Linked DNA regions of Homo sapiens: all the other regions are linked to region 1. Evidence: promoter capture Hi-C in 16 types of primary human blood cells and fetal thymus (Javierre and others, 2016). All regions are on one chromosome and are shown on one strand. The core of a region is centred on a gene start or on the middle of the fragment in contact, and the rest is flanking DNA. Distances in the headings are between cores, read along the strand shown.

What was found. The method cuts DNA at HindIII sites, captures the fragments that hold promoters and counts their contacts. A CHiCAGO score of 5 or more calls a contact.
Region 2: a contact is called between a fragment that was not itself captured here and the fragment with the promoter of LINC01124 in region 1, in 2 of 17 cell types (naive B cells and total B cells). The highest score is 11.7, in naive B cells.
Region 3: a contact is called between a fragment that was not itself captured here and the fragment with the promoter of LINC01124 in region 1, in 1 of 17 cell types (total B cells). The highest score is 7.0, in total B cells.

Annotation. Positions count from the first base shown.
Region 1 is chr2:170,712,282-170,716,769 of GRCh38, reverse strand. It overlaps LINC01124 (long intergenic non-protein coding RNA 1124), which reads left to right and starts at 2,203. Exons shown (of 1, transcript NR_027433.1): 1 at 2,203-4,331. It overlaps SP5 (Sp5 transcription factor), which reads right to left and starts at 1,433. Exons shown (of 2, transcript NM_001003845.3): 1 at 1,207-1,433; 2 at 1-511. The coding sequence starts at 1,257. All of the region lies in intron 5 of ERICH2-DT (ERICH2 divergent transcript), which reads left to right. RefSeq lists enhancers at 1-271, 272-1,059, 1,060-1,849 and a silencer at 2,067-2,116. The HindIII fragment of the contact is 7,273 bases long and covers 1-4,488 here.
Region 2 is chr2:172,085,171-172,089,658 of GRCh38, reverse strand. DLX1 (distal-less homeobox 1) reads right to left here and starts at 4,152. Exons shown (of 3, transcript NM_178120.5): 1 at 3,669-4,152; 2 at 2,806-3,005; 3 at 1-1,656. The coding sequence starts at 3,981. The coding sequence ends at 1,402. RefSeq lists enhancers at 830-1,441, 2,055-2,666, 3,281-3,892, 3,924-4,043, 3,893-4,488 and a silencer at 4,324-4,433. The HindIII fragment of the contact is 3,945 bases long and covers 234-4,178 here.
Region 3 is chr2:172,068,679-172,073,166 of GRCh38, reverse strand. METAP1D (methionyl aminopeptidase type 1D, mitochondrial) reads right to left here. Exons shown (of 10, transcript NM_199227.3): 6 at 2,097-2,260. Among named protein-coding and RNA genes, the nearest start is that of DLX1, 15 kb to the left of the region's middle. RefSeq lists an enhancer at 1-1,376. The HindIII fragment of the contact is 1,811 bases long and covers 1,130-2,940 here.

The DNA.
Region 1 (4,488 bases), core at 954-3,453:
GGAGGTCGTCGGGGGCCGGGTTGGGTGACAACTGGCGGCAGGTGGGCGGCGGGGGCGGTGGCGGCGGCGGAGGCAGCAGGTTGGAGTAGCCTGGCGGCAGCGCGGCCTGCGCCGCGTAGGGCACGTAGGCGGGCGCGCAGCTGGCGGGCAGAGCCGCCATGCTCGAGGGCAGCATCTTGACCGGCGAGAACTCGTAGGGGTACGAGGGGTCGGCGGGGGGTGTAAGGGGAAGCTCGTGCGCAGCCCCGAAGGACGGCTGCAGGTGCGTCTTCTGCGGCGTCAGCCCCAAGCTGGGATGCGGGGGCGGCAGTGCGCCTGGCGAGTGCGCCGGCATGTCGGCGGTCCACGGGTGGAAGAGCCTGGAGGGTGAGCCCAGCGCGGGGTCGTAGGGCACCTGCAGGAAGTCCGGGGGCGCCGCCGCGCCCGGCTGGCCGATGCGGCTACAGGTGGCGGCCAGCAATGCCAGGGGCGAGTGCTTGCCCAGGTCCGGGGAGGCGCTGGGGGTGCGGTCCTGCATAGGCGGCGAGGGAGGGCGGAGAAGAGACAAAAGGTTAGCTCCAAGCGCGGACTCCGGGCCAGCCCGCCGCCCCCACGCCCGCTATTATACCGCCGCCCCTCCTCCGTCCCGGCCGTCCCTCCCCCGCCACCGCACCCCACGCACGCACCCACCGGCCGAGGGAAACTTTTGGTGCCTGCGCTACCTGAACGTGGGGCCCGCGAGCGCTTCTTGCTAAACTACTTGGTGCACTGAGACGCCATCCAGCCTTAGAGGAAGCAGGCGCGAAGTGGGAGGGGGAGGCATCCGACGGGCCCCTCCCGGCTCCGTGGTCAGTAAGAGTCGGGAAACACCCACAACCCCGCCGGCCGGCCGCTCTCCCTCCCATCTTTTAAGCTCTCTTGTCCTCACTGCCTTCGCGCTCCTCCCTGGCCCGCCCCAGGCTGAAATCAGCAGGAGGGCCCAGCAGGGTGAGCTCCGGTCCTGTTCTCGGCCAGCCGGGCACCTCCGAACAATCCCGGATCCACGCGTCCCTCCAGCAAAGGCCACACCGGATTAGGTGTGAAGTTGGCGTGGGCACCCCTAGGCCTGGCTCCAGCTGCACCCATCGGCGGGGTTCCCTTTGAGGTTCAAGGTGCACGGAGTACCAGGAGAGATCCGGACACGGCCCTTTCCACCTTTCTCCCGCCCCCTCCGGGCTCGGCCCTGACCTGGAGAAAGGCCTGCAGCGAGTCGTTCCGGAGGACGGCCACCGCGGCCATGGCTACGGCTTGCAGGCCCCTGGCTGCGGAGCGGGACGCCGCCGCCGAGGCATGGACACCCGAAGGCGAGGACGAAGGGCCGCCCAGCCTGCCTCCCTGGCGCCTGCTCTGAGCGCCGGGGCCCTCCCCGCCCTTGCCCCTCGCCGCGCCCCGCTCGCTCGCCCCGCGCGCGGTCTGAGCGCTTCAGGATCACCTCCAAGAATTTGATAAGGACTTTGCTGGGCCGCCAGCCAGTCAGAGGGAAGATTTATGGCTTTGAAGTTTGCCGCTACCCAATCATCAAAGAATAGCGGCTCTTTCAGAAGCGAAAGCAAATCCTTTGAATCCACAAAGCTCCTATGGTGTGTTTGTTGGTCTGGATAAAAGAACTGATTATTAGGGGGGATGGGAAGGGAGGAGATAAAGGCGGGACAATTAATGAAGTAATCACTATGTGGGAAATGTATATACACAAATAATTGGATTTTCCTGATCAAAGGGGGCCTTGCCGCCTGGAGACCCGCGCTTGGGTTGCTCGAGACACTCTTCCCGCCCCCCCCAACATACACACACACACACACACACACACTTGCAATTAAAGATTTGCACCGACGCAGCGCCCAAAGTGACAAAGTGTCTTTGTTATCTCTGGAAAAATCTGCCTTCGGCTTCCAGGCGCCGGACTTTGAGACGGCAAAGAGTGTAACTCTCCCCTGTATTTACTTGCACACCCTGCACCCTCGCCGCACACGCACCCGCCCGCGCACACAGCGGACCCAAGCGAGATCCCCGGTGGGGCGTGGGACCGACAGCGCCCGGCCCGCCGCGTGTCCCCCGCCCGCCGCGGTGGGGCCGAGGGCAGGGCTGTGACCTGGGGCGGGGCCGGGCGGCCGCCCAGCGCGGCGTTGGGTGGCGCGCACGCTCCAGGGCCGCCCGCCTGACGAGCGACCGGGGCTCTCCTGTGACGTTCCTGCTGGCGACCTGGAAGTTTTCCTCAGGCCACAACTTTTGCAGAGTGGACCTGGGAAAAACACCCGCGCCGCGCATACCCTCAAAGCTGAGCTCGGCAGGACACCCAAGGCGACCCGTCATGCCCACCCGAGGGGAAGAAGCTGTGCTGTCCCGCCCCCTTCTCCCCAGGCCACCCAGGAGGCCCGGGCTGGGCTGTGGGGGGCCGAAAGCCCCAGCGCTGCTGGTGATTTCTCGCCCGGAGCCCCGCCAAGCCAGCGCGCCCTCTCGCAAGCCTGGCAGACCAGGAGCTACTGGAAAAAAGGCGCGGTCGAGGAAGCCTGGTTGTTGTGGTCCCACAAACCACAAATCATACGAGAGAGGATCCCGAAGGCGGGAGAAAAGTCAGTACAGACTTGTTCCTGCCACCTTTGGAAAGAAAAAGTTCCTCACCAGGCGCGGGGCGTGCTTTGCTCTGGGCAGGGTCGCGCTTGCAGGGGCTTGGGTGACCCCCATCCCTCCCTGGCGGCTCACCTCCTGCCGAGGAGGGCCACCTGCCTCCTCCTGGCCCAGGGCGCAGGGCGCGTCCTGCCCCGGCACTGCGGACGCGGGGATCGCCTCTCCCGGGCGCGCGGGCGGGGAAGGAGGAAGAGGCGGGCGGGGAACCGCGGGGTGCTCACCGCCCTGGGGCATTAGGGGTGCGGAACCGCGTTGGAGGCCTCGCGGCCCCGGCTCGCGAGAGCGCACTGCGGAGTGGCCGCCGGAGCTCGGCCTACTCCTCTCCCCCACCCACCTCCCGTCGGACACAGTCTCCACTCTCCAGGCCGCCGGCCGTGGGGGAGCCCCTAATCAGTTCGCGCCCGGCCTCTCTGCCCGTCTTCCTCACGGGAACCGCACTGCGACCGGGACGGACGGGGTGACCTATCTCCCGATGCAGCGTCAGAGGTTAGCCTAACTACAACGGACTCGGAATCTGGACTGTATAAGGATGCCCTCCGCACTTCCATCAGGGGTCGGGGATGCGATGCCTCCGGGCCCACCTTCTCCCACGCCCAGGGCGCGCCTGCGGAATGAGAATATCGTACTCAAGACGGGTGGGCTGCTTGCGACCCAAATACAATGGGTCCCTCGCACATCCTGCACTCGCACGCCCCCTTCTCCCCCAACGAGTTGTCCCCTCTAAAACGCGAGCGGCGACCACACAACTTGGCCGACCCGATCTGGCTTCTGAAGATGAGGTCGGCTGCTCTGGGAGCGGAGAAGGGGAGAGAGCTTAGTGGTTTCATCCGAGGCCTGGCCAACCTGCTCCTTCCCACGCTCCCGTCCAGGATTTGAGTCTTGGAGAAGCGTGAGACTCGAGGGAGCTCTTCCCTGGATGCAAGTCGGAGGCCAGGGAGCCCCTTGGCACACACTCGCGCCTGCACATGCTTGCACCCTCGAAGCGATCTGGTTCCTTAGCGCTGGTTTCCTTTCCAGCTTCTTTGAGATCTTCGAAGTCCCCTTTCCCAGGGAGGCGGGCAGGGCCGGGCTAAGCAGGATGGAAGGCAGCCCTTTTTATTGAATCTGATAGCTACTTTCCCAAAAAGGCCAGAAAAGCCATTTCACATCCCCATAGTTATGGGAATTAGCTTTTTCTCCAAGATGCCCCCATTAGCCAGTTAAACCATCAGTGGGCCAACAGGGTCAAAGTTAGTGGCTTGGTGGTTGAAAGCTCGGAGTCCGAACTCTCTGAAGACATTTTTCCCGCCTTGCCACTTTCTAGTTGGTGACCTTGGCAAGCAAGGTACTCAGCCGCTGTGTACCTCAGTTTTGCGGTTTGTAAAATGGGAGTTACAATAGTGCACCCCTTGTAGAGTGGCTATAGGTTTAAGAGTTAATATACGCAAGGTCTTTAGGACGGTGCTGAGCGTACAGAAGGCCCTCTCTTGAGTGGTCGCAGTTGGCTGCTCTCGGCCTCATCTCCGTTTGTGAAAACCCGTCCAGATTCCGGTCCTCCCAGGCCCCAGCTGAAGTTTGGAGAGAGGCTTTGCTGAATAGCTGTTTAGTCTCCCCCAACCCCCTTGGCCCTCGGAGCTCCTGGAAAAAGTTCTTAATGAAGTAATGTTGAGAGCGTCCATTAAAAATGCAATGCTGGGAGATCAAAGTACAATATTTATTTTAGAAATTTGTTGTAATCACCAAGAGATACAGGTATCAAGGCCAAATGTCAGTTCCATTACACAAAGCCCCGCGCCCGGGAAGAGCGTGTGGCTGCTCTGCCATAATGTAAAGAGACATCAAAGACCGAGCGCGCTGCAAAAGTGC
Region 2 (4,488 bases), core at 957-3,456, 1.4 Mb before region 1:
TTTTACTGTCTCAAAGAAACTTTATAACTTATTTACAAAGTTTTTTTCCCAAGATACAAAGCAATAAGTTAACATTCTCAATATAAAACTAAACTTTGACATAGAGAACACAAAACACAGTTGATTTCAATTGATCACATTTTCCAAATTTCACAAGAAAAATGTCAAGATTCTCATTTCACAAAGCATGGGGTTTTACAGCCACACACAACAGAACGCAAAAAGGCTAAGCTTGTGCAACATGTTTACAGAACAACAATAATAACAATAATAATAATAACAATAATATGTACAGTCATTAGATCCTGCACTGGAGATTGTGCGTTCAGGGTGGTGACTGGCATTATTCTGTGGTCGAGCCTCTAGGGATTGTTGTAAAGCTGATTTTGTCTTATTTTAAAGCCCACTGGAATTAGAGTGCTTGTTCTCGCCTGTTTTCTCTCTACTCCCCATTTGCCCTCGCTCCCTCTTTCTACCCAAGGAGGAAATCAGCATTTTCCTTCTTGTCCAGGCGAAGCAACAGAGTTCCTCCCGAAATGAGAAAATCATGTTGGCTTCATTTATCGTTCTTTTCTTTTAAAAATTATTTATTAAATAATGTCGGACATGTAAAAAATGCAAATCATTCGGCTCCAAACTCTCCATACCAGAGAAGTACAAAAGTTACTGTATAAATTAAAAATCACCACGTCCTCCTTATTCGTTTCTCCCCGTGCGCTTAAAGTAAACAGTGCGTTTGAACAGTGCGTTCCTTGCGCCCAGCAGAACCCTGAATTGGCAAACAGCCTCAGGCGAAGTCCATTTCTCAATAAATAAAACCCCCTCCCTCCAATGCCCCCAGATTCCCACACCAGCTACACAGATGGTCAGGCAGAGTGTCCCAGGATCCGGAGATGGTCAGCCCGGCAGGACCCGGGCCGCTCAGACCTTGTGGCTTTTTGCTGAGGCCGCAGAATGAGGACAGCGGACGGATGAGGACCTGGACTTTACCAGCGCACAGACAGAGCAAAAGGAGACAGGAGACTGACAGGACAGAAAAGAGCTTTTGCTTTTTCTACATTTTGTTTTTGTTTTGTTTTTTCCTGATAGTCCCACAAAGCTGAAGGTCGGCGGGTCGGGTGGAGCGGGTTTATCTTGCTGCTTGGGCTGTCTCAGGTGGCAGTGGCTTCCCTCCGAGGCCACTCTCTGCTGCCACTGCTCGGCCCAGGCCAGGGTTCAGGCTAGAGCGCGGATGCCGGGAAGTTGCTGGGCCGGACCTCGCGGGGCTCCGAGGAGATGGAGGGCGTCCCGCCTCCACTGTTCCTTCTTCCCTCTGGGTCCTTCTTTTCCGGACGGGATGGATGGACCTGGAGGCGGGAGGGACCTGGGCCGGGGAGACAAGAAGGAGACGGGCGGGCAACCTCACATAAGTTGGGGTTGCTGCATAGCTTCTTGGTGCGCTGAAGGGTACCACGATGTGTAGCTGGGGATATAGGAGCCCGCGTTTCCTCCTGAGCCCTTCCCGGATGAAGAGTTAGGGTTCCAGCCGGGCGGCACGGGTGGGGAGCCAGCAGACAGGGCCCGACCGTTGGCCAACGCACTACCCTCCAGAGCCGCCCCACCCTGCTTCATCAGCTTCTTGAACTTGGATCGCTTGTTTTGGAACCAGATCTTGACCTGCAAGAGCGGACAACAACGTGACTCAGGCTGGGACCACTGAGCCTACCTAGGTCACAGGGAGGAAAAAAGGGACCGCAGAACAGCAGAGATAGGACCTCCCAACCCTGCGCCAGCTGGCAGCTCCCTGCCAGAGAAGCAGAGACATCCCTCCTTCCTCCCTTCCCCCATAAGAGCCAAAGGCTCGAAGGCCGAACCTCCCGCCGCCGTCAGCCCACGGGGGCAGCTCTCAGAGAGCCAGGGAGGAGTTGTGATGAGGGGAGAACCGGGATCCAGGCCTTAGCCTGCCAGGGGCTCAGTCCGACCGTGGCTACCGCCTGCGGAAGATACAGCGCCTGCATAACACCGAGCCAGCAATTCCAATATCAACATCAATAAAAAGAATCGAAAACCTAGGAAGGAGTGGAGGAAATTTATTTGCAACGCGACCCAACTTTTCTATGCGCCATCTTTTCTGCCCTTGAGTTGGGACGGACTAAGGAGGCCTCAAGGTTTTGCTGAACTTCTCTTTGGATTCAAAACCATTCTTGCACTAGTGTCTGTTTGCTTTCTCCAGCTCTGCTCCAAATCCCGGACCGGACGTCGGAAACCCGCGCCCGCCGCCGTCAGGAACGCTCACGGGCTCCCCGGAGTCTTACAGAAAGCCGGGAAGGAAGGTCCCGTTTCTTCTCTAAGGTCTGGGACTTGAGAGGTGAGAGGGCGGAGGAAAGGATCTCCCCCCACCCCCAACCGGTAAGAAGGAGGAGGAGGAGGGAGGCTGAGGCGCGGACCCAGGCCCCGAGTGATTAGTCACACAATTTAAAGGCAAAGGAGGGATTAAGCCCGGAGTCTATTGTTCCAGTTGTTTAGGCACGTGTGACCTCTGAGTTCCCAAACAAATCGTCTGGGGAAATCCTTCCTGCGCCCTAATCAGATTGTCCAGGGACAGAGGGCCGGACGGCAGGCAGCTCGGGATACCGAGAGCAGTGACAGAGCTAGGGCAGAGGGAATGAGGGAGGAAGGAGACACGCTGAGAGCCAGGGGTGGACACAAACACATACACACAGTGACACCCCGACCCTGAGTCCCAGCGAGCAACAAATGAAGACCCGGGCGCAGGCCGGCCGCGGAAAGCCTGCGTGGCAGAACGGAGCGGCAGCGGCGAGGTACCTGAGTCTGTGTGAGTCCCAAAGAGGCCGCGAGCTCCGCCCTCTCCGGCAGAGCTAGGTACTGAGTTTGCTGGAACCTCCGGTTCAAAGCCTGCAACTGCAAACTGGAATAAATCGTCCTGGGTTTACGGATCTTTTTTCCCTTGCCATTGAAGCGCACTTCACCGCCTTCCACCACCGTGCTCTTCTCCGAGTCCGCCCCTGGAGGGACAGCAGAAGTAGGGCCCGTTGTTAATACGAGGGGCCGCCTTTAGTGCGAACAGCCGAGAGCGAGTGGCTACCGAAGGGTGGCGGAGGCAGCACCAGGGAGAGAACGTTCAAGAAACTCTGAAAGCCAGGGAAGGGTCCCCCAAAATCCGAGGGCCTGTCCCGGGACGCTGCAGGAGGGATAGAGCCGTTCCCAGGAGCTCAGCTCCTGCCTTTGCAGGGAAAGTTTGCTATTTTTGCAGGCGGTAGTTGAGGTTTAATTACCCTTAATTGCATACATTGTTTATAGCGCTACGCAATAAATAATTACCGAGACTAATACGTGCACATGTGGGTTTCTGTTTTCCAGCGGGGCATTGTGTGCTCTGCACACCGAGCCGCCCAGAGGCCCAGCCAGTGCCAGGAGACGCTCTGGGATTTATCCTTGGCTGGATAGTTGCAAATTGAGGGAATTTTTAAAAAAATTTATTTGCTGTGACAAGGATCTATAGATTGATATTCGAAACCTCCACTGCTCCCGCGCCCTCCCCACCCCCACCCCACCTCGCTCTCCTCTCTTCTCTTTCTCTCTCTCTCCCTCTCCTCTTCTCCCCCGCTCCTTCTTTCCCTCTCTCCCTTGTACCTCCTCCTCTCCCTCTCCCTGGCAAGCGCACGTACCTGGGTCCTCCAGGCGGCTCTGGGCGAGGCTGGCGCTGCCCGGGTAGGACTGCACCGAACTGATGTAGGGGCTGGATGCGTGGCTGCTGACCGAGTTGACGTAGGGGTAGCCCAGCGGTCGGGAGAAGGACGAGGCTGAGCTGTAGGCGCCGTCGGGCTGCGAATGGCCCGCCGAGTGTAAACAGTGCATGGAGTAGTGCCCGTGGGACATGGGAGAAGGAGACATTTGCTGGTTGGGCGGCCCAAACTCCATAAACACCGCCTTGCCCGACACGGGGCTGTTGAGACTTTCTGGCATGGTGGTCATGGTCATCTCTTCTCGCGGGGTCTGGGTGTGGGACTTTCTCTCCTCTGCTTCCCTTTTGGGGGTCTCTATGTTTCTCAGGACAGGAAGGAACCCAATTTAAGCGGAACAGGGGTTTTCACTTTCCATTCATAAGAAAATGGAGTTTGTCTCTTTGAAAAGTCTAAGCATGATGCTGCTGAGCTCCCCAAACTCGGTTCAAAGCTTTGACTCAGCGAAGGTCATAAATATTCATGAGCTGGCGGAGCTGATTGGTCCGCTGTCTTGCATAATCACTGGGGATTGGTCCGAGGCGCTCGGGCTCCGCTGGACTAGAGCGGGCGAGGCGGCCCGGCCTCGGGTAAGACGCATCCACACTTCCCGGCCGGGGCTCCTCTGCAACAGAGCGCGCCGGGCAGGAAGCACAATGGGCTGCGGCGTCTGCGCCGGGGCCCCTGCGGCCCGCGGCTCATCGGCCTCCCGCCTCCCTCGCGCGCTTTCCTCCCCAGGAACCAACCAGCGGCTCCGCGCCGCCGC
Region 3 (4,488 bases), core at 786-3,285, 1.4 Mb before region 1:
TTCTTTTTATTCCCCTTGATGTATACTAGGCTCTGTGTTATTAGTCTTAATGATGGAAAATTGTAGTGTTGATACAAATCTTTTTTTCAAAGTAGTAGGCGGGAGCTCCATTTGTTAGTAAGTTTTTTTTGTGACTAAAAGCCATGGACAGTACATTTATGTAGCAGTAAAAGGCCTAGATGCTCTTTCCATAGCAGAGCTAATTATTCCTACTGTGACCTTACTGATCTAGCCTGTTCCTAGCACATCTCATCTGCACGCCTGTTCCTCTGTGTAGATGGTGTCAGAGAATATGAAAAACCCTATAATGAAACCATTTTCATGATGGAGAAAGGCTACTGGAGTTGCACTTGCTACAAAGAGGCTCAATTATATGAGTAATTGTGATAATTTTCTACATTCATAGCCTTCAATGGGGGAAAAAGAATGAGAGCCACAAAGGAAAATTACTTTAACAAGAAAGTACAGAGAGTAAAAATGGAAGAAGAGACAAAAAGGGGAAAAAATAACCAGAAAAAAAGTTTAAAAAATAGATCTGGAGGGAGGAATAGCGAGACAGGGAGAACAACAGAAATGCTCAAAAGCCCATGTGCAGCTGTGTTGCACAATTAAATTGAATTTTTTTTTCTGCAGTTGATGAATGTGACTACTGCAAATGTGCCTCTGTAGTTAGCTATCATTTGTTGTTCCGTGACAGGAAAAGGATAATTACCTCTCAGAGAGAATCAAAGGCTGACATGCCCTTTAGACACAGCCATGAATGCAGAGCTCGATAGAATGCTTGAATAAGAATCTAGTGTTCTCTGCCCCCTTCTACTGAAGAATAAATTTTGTTAAAATGCAAGAGCACCACCAGTAAATTTGTTGAACCCTAGGTGTTCAAAAATATGAGGTGCATCTATCGACTCATCCCATTTGCAAAAATAAAACTGCATTTTGAATTCATTTCTATTATATTCATGGACAGTAAGATAGTGAGATATGCATTAAATTTCTTTTCCCAGTAGGGGTCTGATTCAACATTTCCTATGAAAGAACAGAGAGACACTATCCTTTTTTCCCAGGCTAGTTAGCCTATAATTTAAAACTGTCAAAAACACAATTTTGTTCAAAGTCTTCAATAAAAGCTTCTCAGATATAACCCAAAGAGATTTTACTAAAGTTTGATTCAGACACTGTTACAATATTTTTAAAGCCATAAATACATTTAACTGATATTTTACTGGCTTTTTTCTTAAAGTATTTGAAGGCTTACGAAGAAAAAAAGGCAGCATCTTTTCAAGGTGACTAAGCCTTCCATCCTTTAGACAAATGGGAAGTATTCAATGGTTCATATTAATGAGAACAGTACTTTAAAGGGCACTGATGTGATCATCTTTAACAGAATGCATTACTTTAAAATGAAAACATATATTCGGCATGTCTACTTCAAAACAGTTATGGGGGAAAAAAGACCTAAAAGTAGGTAACAGATTATAAAGAAAAGTCTTAAATTCAGAAAACACACATACACATACATTCAAAAAGTAAGGATAGAATACTCTGTGAAAAATAAACAACGGTTTACAGGAAAAATGAACCAGACAAAAAAAGAACAGAAGATCACCGTTTCAGGCTATTTGTTAATCTACCAATTTGAAAGGTAAGGCTTGCTTGAACTAACACTTTATTATCTTCATATCACAGAAATACATTTCACTTCATTCCTTTATAAAATTTAGTTTTTCTCCTGTCTTATTAAAAACCCCAGGGTTGAGATGCTCATCCCCTTCTTAGGTACTCCCTTCCATATTTGGTGTGATTTTGAATAAAGGGAAACTATAGACCAGTATGTCAAGCTAAAACAAAAGCAGCCATGTAAATATTGCTTGCTCCTTCTATAAGTTTCTTTGCTGACCCTGGTATAATTCATTTTTATAAAATCTTTTTTTTTTTTCAACTCAGGGAACAATATTGCAGCCTGGCAGTTCACATACTGATATCAGACTGAAATGATGGTTCTGAATCATAAAACATGTCATCAACTTTATACCAAGCCACCAATAACCTTTGTACCATTTGCCAACCCTCCCTTTACTTGTCAATGTAAGGCTTACCTGATTGTGTTTCCAATTACAGAGAAGGGAGCCCCTGCTCTGCAAGCTGCAATTGCTTCATCTCTACACCTCCTGGCAACCTCCACTAACTTTTTACCACATTCGTCCACATTGCCCACCAAAAATGTTTCAGAGGTGTCTCCATGGTAGCCATTGTAATAGACCTAAACATAAGCAGAAATTTAAAAATATGTCCTTGTTTAAAAATCTACTTTCCTAAAGTATACATTGTATTCATTTATGTATTTAGTAGACTCATGTTTTACCCTTCCAGAATTATTCATTTGCCTATCAAAAAAAGAAGAAATAGATATATTGAAACCTTGCAGAAATTTAAAAGATGAAGCCATGCAATGATATTGCAAAATTTAAAAACAACTATGTTAACTAGTATGGTTATTTCAGCATTATGATGAACAATACTACTGTAATATTTTGATTCCTCACTTTATTTCTGAGAAGACAAAATTATATAAGCAAAAATTAGTAGCCAAAGACCTTGATCTACAATTACCACAACAGGTTTAGAGAACCAAAAAGTATTTAACATAGTGAAAAGTTTCTTCAATGTCATGAAGACTTACTTGATTTTGTATTTACCAGTTCTACATTTGAAGTGATATATAATGACAAGAAGAAGTAAGATAGACATGTCTGTATTCTAACAAACAAATAGGAGAATTCAGTTCTAAGAATTGAAGTGGTTCCATATAGGAATGAAATGTGTTACAGAAAAATCCTATGTCTAGAAGTGAAATCTTAATCAAATGTTCCAGACAGCCGAACGTTAACAGAAAGCACTATATATGGATATCTAAAGAATTAGAATATAATAAAACAAGCTTAAAAGCACAATTACAGAAAGTATAATTTTATCAGTCTTCAGTGATTCAGAAGCCAAGTAGGATCTTGAAAGATACCAGATTCATTATAAATCATTGATAACCAAGCACTATAGTAAATATAAAAGGCAGAGGCAACTGTTTGGATACTGATCCTTTGATGTAGCATGGAATTTGCTACTTTGCATAAATTTGTCCTATCTAATTATTTTTCACATTTCTCTTGCTCATAAGGTAGAATGTAGAAACTGTTATAAAAAAGATGTTTATATGAGCTTTCAGTCTGTTGTGATACTGAATTAATGTCTTAAATCTGTATACTACTCTGCATTTCTTAAAAAATGCTCTCATATTCTGTGAAGGAAGCAAGAAAGGTCTTTATTAGATCTTCAGTTTATAATTCAGGAAACTGAGGCACAGATAAGTAACTTGTTTAAGGTTGGTGGCAGAATATAGAGGTAGATTCAGGTTAATATGATGGATTATTGGCTTCTAATCGAGTGTTTTCTCTACTATATCAAATTATCTTAATTACCTTGCAACAGAATAGTGTTTTATACATTTACTCCCACTTACAGTCCTTTGCAATCCAGGAAAGTATGAGTTTTTATTTTATACACTTGGCAGTATTTCACTTTGCTTCATAGGTTTTACAATTTTGAAATAGTTTGAATGTTAATAATGAAACTATTAAAAGTCTTCAGGAAACTTAGAAAAGGAATAGAGTATTCTCTTTGGACACATTGGAAACAGTAGGGAAGACTATGCTGATTTCGTTCAAAAATTCAAATTTTTATATTCTTATATTTCATTCAAAATACAAGAATACTATTTCAAAATACAAAATACGATTTCATTCAAAATACAAGAATATAAAATTTGCTAATATAGGCGTAGTCAAGAAAATGTATAAATGAATGTTTATATAACTGCTTTTTAAGTAAAAATGTACTATTTTAAAAAATCTTTATTCATCTTTTCATATTACTTTTTCCTAGCTTTGAAAATGATTACTTGAGGCTGGGTGCAGTAGCTCACGCCTGCAATCCTTTGGGAGGCTGGGATGAGAGGATTGCGTGAGACCAGGAGTTTAAGACCAGCTTGGGAAACATAGTGAAACCCCATCTCTACAAAATTAAAAAATTAACCAGGTGTGGTGGCACACGCCTGTAGTTCTAGCTACTTGGGAGGCTACGGTAGAAGGATCACTTGAGCCCAGGAGTTCAAGCTTACAGTAAGCCATGATGGCACCACTGCACTGCATCCTGAGTGACAGAGCAAGACCCTATATCTGAAAAAGTAAAAAAAGAAAAGGAAACAAAGAAAAAGAAAAAGAAAGGAAGGGAGGAAGGGAGGGAGGAAGGGAGGAACGAAGGAAGGAAGGAAGGAAGGAAGGAATATCAAAATGACTATTTGAGACTGGTGCAGTGGCTCACACCCATAATTCCAGCACTTTGGGAGGCGGAGGTGGGCGGATCACTTGAGGTCAGGAGTTCAAGACCAGTCTGGCCAACATGGTAAACCCAGCCTCTACTTAAAATACAAAAATT